Regions from separate parts of the Homo sapiens genome. Here region 1 is linked to region 2. The links are contacts of gene promoters, found by promoter capture Hi-C in blood cells and fetal thymus (Javierre and others, 2016). All regions are on one chromosome and are shown on one strand. Each heading gives the region's core, a stretch centred on a gene start or on the middle of the fragment in contact. The rest is flanking DNA. Distances are from core to core; before and after follow the strand shown. Region 1 overlaps LINC02811 (long intergenic non-protein coding RNA 2811). Region 2 holds the start of NT5C1A (5'-nucleotidase, cytosolic IA).

What was found. The method cuts DNA at HindIII sites, captures the fragments that hold promoters and counts their contacts. A CHiCAGO score of 5 or more calls a contact.
Region 1: a contact is called between a fragment that was not itself captured here and the fragment with the promoter of NT5C1A in region 2, in 1 of 17 cell types (megakaryocytes). The highest score is 5.0, in megakaryocytes.

What each region holds. Positions count from the first base shown.
Region 1 is chr1:39,803,417-39,806,131 of GRCh38, reverse strand. All of the region lies in intron 3 of LINC02811 (long intergenic non-protein coding RNA 2811), which reads left to right. LOC130932201 (a long non-coding RNA gene) reads right to left here. Exons shown (of 4, transcript NR_186719.1): 2 at 1,100-1,254. Among named protein-coding and RNA genes, the nearest start is that of LINC02811, 13 kb to the left of the region's middle. The HindIII fragment of the contact is 1,998 bases long and covers 337-2,334 here.
Region 2 is chr1:39,670,775-39,673,659 of GRCh38, reverse strand. It overlaps NT5C1A (5'-nucleotidase, cytosolic IA), which reads left to right and starts at 1,553. Exons shown (of 6, transcript NM_032526.3): 1 at 1,553-1,756. The coding sequence starts at 1,622. RefSeq lists a silencer at 1,361-1,770. The HindIII fragment of the contact is 2,595 bases long and covers 228-2,822 here.

The DNA.
Region 1 (2,715 bases), core at 86-2,585, 130 kb before region 2:
CGTGCTGTAGTTCCAGCTACTCCAGAGGCTGAGGTGGGACGATCCCTTGAGCTCAGAAATAAGACCAAATCAGCCTAGGCAGGGAGACATCATCTCTAAAAAAAGTAAAATTAAAAAAAGATAAAATAACTCTAAACTTAGATTCTCCAACAACATAGCCTCAAAATACTTAAAGCAAAAACTGACAGAACTCAAAAAAGAAATAGACAAATTCAAAACCACAATGGGAATTTTAACATACTTCTCAATAATGGGTCAAAAAATTAGCCAGGTGTGGTGGCACATGCCTGTAGTCCCAGCTGCCCAGGAGGCTGAGGTGGGAGGATTGCTTAAGCTTGGGAAGTCGAGGCTGTGGTGAGTCATGACCACACCACTGCGCTCTAGCTTGGGTGACAGAGCAAGACTCTCAATAAAAAAGAAAGAAGAAAGGAAGGAAGGAAAGAAAGAAAAGGAAAGGAAAGAGGGAAAAAGGGACACAAAAAAAGAAATGTCAGAAATGAAAAGGGAGAAATCACTATAGATCCTACAGATGATGGTAACTCATACATTTCAGGTAGAATTGTAAATGCGTACTAGCATTTAGAAATCAGTTTGGTATTGTTTACTAAAGTTGAAGGTATACATATCCTGTCACCCAAAGTTTTATTCTTAGGTGTACAGCCAAGAGACACATATGCACTTTTGGGAAAAAAAACCCTCAAATATTTATTAATAGTACAATGTATAAGTGAAAAATACTATGCAGCAATGAAAACAAACTACTGTTTTATGCAATAGCATGGATGATGCTCACAAACCTATTATTGAGTAAAACAAAACAAAAAAAACCTTACCCCCCAAAATATATACTGTATGATTCTACTTACATAAAGTTCAAAAATAGCAAAAAAATAGTGTTTGGTATTTGAAGTCAGGGAAATCAACAAGAGGTGACAAAACACTTATCCTCAGGACTAGCAAGAACAGAAAAGTGTTATTACTCCTAAGCCTAAAGGAACAAGGGGAGAAGATGTCGCTAGAATCCTACATAAGAGATGACACCTGGATGGACTTATGACCTTTAAGTAGAGGACAGGGAGGGATCTGGGGAAATGAATACCCTGATCTCTTTTTCCTCCCATGCTTGTCTTCTGCCAGTGCTCCCCGTTGGTCAAGCCCAATCAGAAGGTGGAGAGTAGGAAATCCATTTCCTGCAGCTTATAAAGGTTGGCTTCCAGGAACACAGAACAAGATGGAGAAGAATAAATAATGGATCTGGAGGAGAAAACAGAGAACACTAGAGTAGTATTAAATCTGGAAGAAAAATTATTGGATTGTCTAATAAATTTTACAAAAAATGTAGTTATTTGATAACAAAAGTAAACCATATAATGAACTTTTAAATTTTTCCAAGGTATTATTGACTCCTGAAACTTGGCCAGATGGTGCCTGCAAAATTCTATGGGTTCAGGTAAAAAAAGATTACTACAATTAAGCAAATTAATTAAATATGACATTCAAATTAATCATCTTGGCCAGGCACAATGACTCACACCTATAATCCCAGCACTTTGGGAGGCTGAGGCAGGAGGATCGCTTGAGCCTAGGGTTTGAGACCAGACTGGGCAATAGAGTGAGACCTCATATCTACAAAAAGTTTAAAAATTAGCTGAGTGTGCTGGTGCATGCCTGTGATTCAGGACTCAGGTGATGCCACCTCCTCAGAGGACCTTCCCTGAGCAACCCATCTGGAGTAGAACCCCCACCTCAAGCTGGGCGTGGTGACTCAGGCCTGTAATCCCAGCACTTTGGGAGCCAAAAGCAGGCAGATCACTTGAGGTTAAGAGTTCGAGGCCAGCCTGGCCAACATGGTGAAACCCGGTCTCTCCTAAAAATACAAAAATTAACTGGGTGTGGTGACGTGTGCCTGTAGTCTCAGCAACTCAGGAGGGTGCGGCAGAAGAATTGCTTAAACCCGGGAGGCAGAGGTTGCAGTGACCCAAGATTGCACCACCGCACTCTAGCACTCTGTTGCACTCCAGGCAACAGAGCAAGACCCCATTTAAAAAAAAAAAAAATCTTCAGAGCAATGGAAAGGTATCAAAGGATTGCTTGTTGGGGAGAAGTATAACCTTATTTGCATTTGAAAACAAGTACCCCTGCAACCATCTCCTAACTCCTCTCCCCCCACACAGTCTCATCTCCTGCCAATGAATAGTGCAAAGTTCCAGAGAAGCCTGGAGGGATGGAATTCTGAGCACAGAAGGAACATCTTTCAGCAGTGAGAAGGAAAGGAGGATTAGGCAGCTATAACATTAGGTGATCTGCTGAGAGCGAGGAGCTAGAAGGGAAGCTTGAAGTCTGAGGACAGTGCAACTAAACATCAAAATGCACTGGAATTGTCTAACGGCATTGAGGTTGGTGACTGAATTTATAGTGTTACTTACACCCCCAGTAGTTCTTAAAAAATGCTTCCTGGCCTGGCTGTAAGCATAAAGGAGAGGCATAGTTAGGTTCACCTAGAGTTTGGAGGGTTTGTTTTGTTTTGTTTCTTGAAACAGAGTCAGGCTGGGCACGGTTGCTCATGCCTGTAATCCCAGCACTTTGGGAGGCCGAGGCGGGCGGATCATGAGGTCAGGAGATCGAGAGCATCCTGGCTAATGCAGTGAAACCCCGTCTGTAATAAAAATACAAAAAATTAGCCGGGCGAGGTGGCGGGTGCCTGTAGTCCCAGCT
Region 2 (2,885 bases), core at 304-2,803:
GCACTCCACTGGGAGCTGAGCTGGGGCTGGGACAGCCAGGATGGCCTCATTCACATGTCTGTCAATTGTGCCTATAGTCACCTGGGCTGTCGCTAGCTTCTTATCCTCCAGGTCCTATCTGTCTCACTACGTGGCCTTTCCAGCAGGATAGTCCAGACTTATTTACATAGTAGCTGGCTCCCAAGAGGGCAAAAATGGAATCTGCAAGGCCTCTTAAGACGTAAGCTTGGAAACCACAGAGCACCACTTCTACTCCATTCAATTGGTCAAAGCAAGTCACAGGGCCAGCTCAGACTGGACTCCACCTCTGAATGGGAGGAATGTCAAAGTCACATTTCCAAAGGACAGGCAGGATGGAAGAGGTTTTTGGGCCATCTCTGGAAACAATCTTCTAGAAGTAAGTCTAAACACACTTCCCCCAATCCTAACATTTTATTATGATTTTTCCCTTCCTCCCACACAAGGGTTGGTTTATTCCTCCCAGGACCTGGTGGAGGCTGAGGGGATCACTCCATTCTGTAGCCCCCTCACCTCCCCAGTCAGAGGCCCTCCTAGCTAAGCCAGTGTTTTCTCCTGCTTCTCCCACCCACCCATGCACACCTCTGAGAGAGGCTGTCTGCTTCCTGGCCTGTACCTTGGGATGGGTGACATTTGTGTCTGCACCCTGAGACTAGTACAGAGCTCTGCATCAAGAGGGACAACACCCTGGAATTCCAGGATGGTAGTTCCGAGGCCCCTCTTCTGCCCTCCCTCTATCCAGCCCCTTCATGGCCTATAACAAATCACCCCAAGCTGGGCAGGTGGGGGCCTAGGAATGCGCGCCCTCTGCTGACCACCAAAGGGCCAGCAAGAATTCGGGTTCAGAGTCCCTGGGAGTCTCTCTGGCCTGGGTCCCCACCCCAGGCCAAGGTCTCGACCTGAGACCACCCGAGCCTGGTCTCAACATGGACTTCAAGGGCCCCTCCTAGGTGGTGTGGAGGAGCTGCCGGGTTGGGCCCTTCACTGAGCTCCCGCTGGGAGCAGGCTTCTGCTAGTGAGAGGAGCCATCCATGCATCACCTCCTGCCCGTCTGCCGGATGGACTGGCCTCGGAGGGAAGGGGACATCGTCAGGATCCCAGGGTCCTAGCTCCTAAAGGAAAGATGGGCAGCTAGCTTTTGGGAGGGGAGCGGCTAGCTTTTCATTTTGTCCTTTGGGGATCACTATCCTGGGGGAAAAAAAAAGTTGTCAGGCCTCTCCTGTCTCCGCGCCCTGCAGCGCCTGCGAAGAACATCATTTTCGCAATCCCCAATCCGCTGCAGCCCACAAACCCAGAGAGCCAGAGAGCCCCCCTCACCACCCAACCGGCTGCTGGCGTGGGTCGGTCGGGGAAGGAGAGCCCAGCTATCCCTCATACCGTACAGCAGTAGCAGCAGCAGCGGCAGCGACACACGGGCGACCGAGAGGGCCAGTGTGACCTCCCCCCGCCCGGCGGGCGGGGAGCCCAGCTCACACGCACAGCCTCCTCGCCGCTGCCCGCCCCCTTCCCTCGCCGGGACTCGCCTCCCTCCTGCAGCCCAGCCCCAGCCACCTCCGCGTCTACGCCGCCGCCTGCTCTGGCCGGGCCGGGTCAGAGCCGGAGCATGGAACCTGGGCAGCCCCGGGAGCCCCAGGAGCCCCGCGAGCCCGGGCCAGGAGCGGAGACCGCTGCGGCCCCGGTCTGGGAGGAAGCCAAGATTTTCTACGACAACCTCGCGCCCAAGAAGAAACCCAAATCGGTAAAAGCAATGCACGGGTATGCGGGGGACGGGGGAAGGGTTACCCCGGAGGAGGGGTCATAAGTCTCTTGGGAAGGGACCCGTGGCGCCCCTCTGGGAGGGGACGCAGCTCCTCAGCCCCAGAATGCGCCCTGCAGCTGGCGCGGGCTCGGGTTTATTTTGGGAGCTCTGCTCTGGTGTATTTTTTTACCGGGACTCGGGTTCCACGCCAGGCTCCCCCTCCCCCATGCTGTCATCAGGGCCCAGCTAGAGGCCCGCAGCCCCAGCCCCTCCCCACTCGGGCCGCCGGGGAGCGCGGATTGCACTTGTTGGCGAAGCTGGTCCGCAGCGCTTCCAGAAGCGCCCCAGGCGCGGGTAACCAGACTTTGGGAACCCGGTTCCTGGCTGTGCGCTCCGGTCTCCGCCATCTGGGCATCGGGCTCCGGACCTGAGACTCTGCGTTTGGGGTCTGGCTCTGGGTCCTGGGCCCTGGGCTGGGGGCAGTGCGCTCCCCGCGTCCTAAGGAAAGGGAGCTGCTCTCTCCAGGCACTGGGATCCACACTCTGCGCTGGGGGGCGATCGGCGCCCCTGGCCGCAGGCTCCCAGCGCTGGACTCTGCCCCCCAGCTCGGGTTCTGCTCCCCTTGCAGTGGGCATTAACATCCCCACGACCCTGTGGTGGTGTCAACCGTCTGGGACCTCACAGAGGAGCTCTCTCCTCTCTGCCATCAAACAAGTTGATGATGCCCTGGTCTGCCCCTGGACCTTGCTGTCTCCAACTTCCCAGATCTCAGAGCTTGAGGAGAAAACCGAGAATAGAGGTTGGCCCACAGCGGTCCTCCAAAGAGCTCCAGCTTGATCTTAAAGCAATTTGCTGCTTCCCTCCAAGAACCCTTCCCCAACAGGTCCACCCTATCAGCAATCATTCAATTAGCACCTCCAAGCTCTGCTCAAGAGTGGGGATTGAAGAATTAAATAACCTGAGTCCCTGCCTCAGGAGCTCACTGCACAATGATGGAGGCTCCAGAGATGAGAGCCTAGGGGAGTTGGGGGGGGAGTAGAGTAGTGACATCACACTGGGGAAAGCTTTGTAGAAGTGGCACGTATCCTGATCTTAAAGCCTGAGTAGGTGGAGTTTCCCAGGGAGAGGG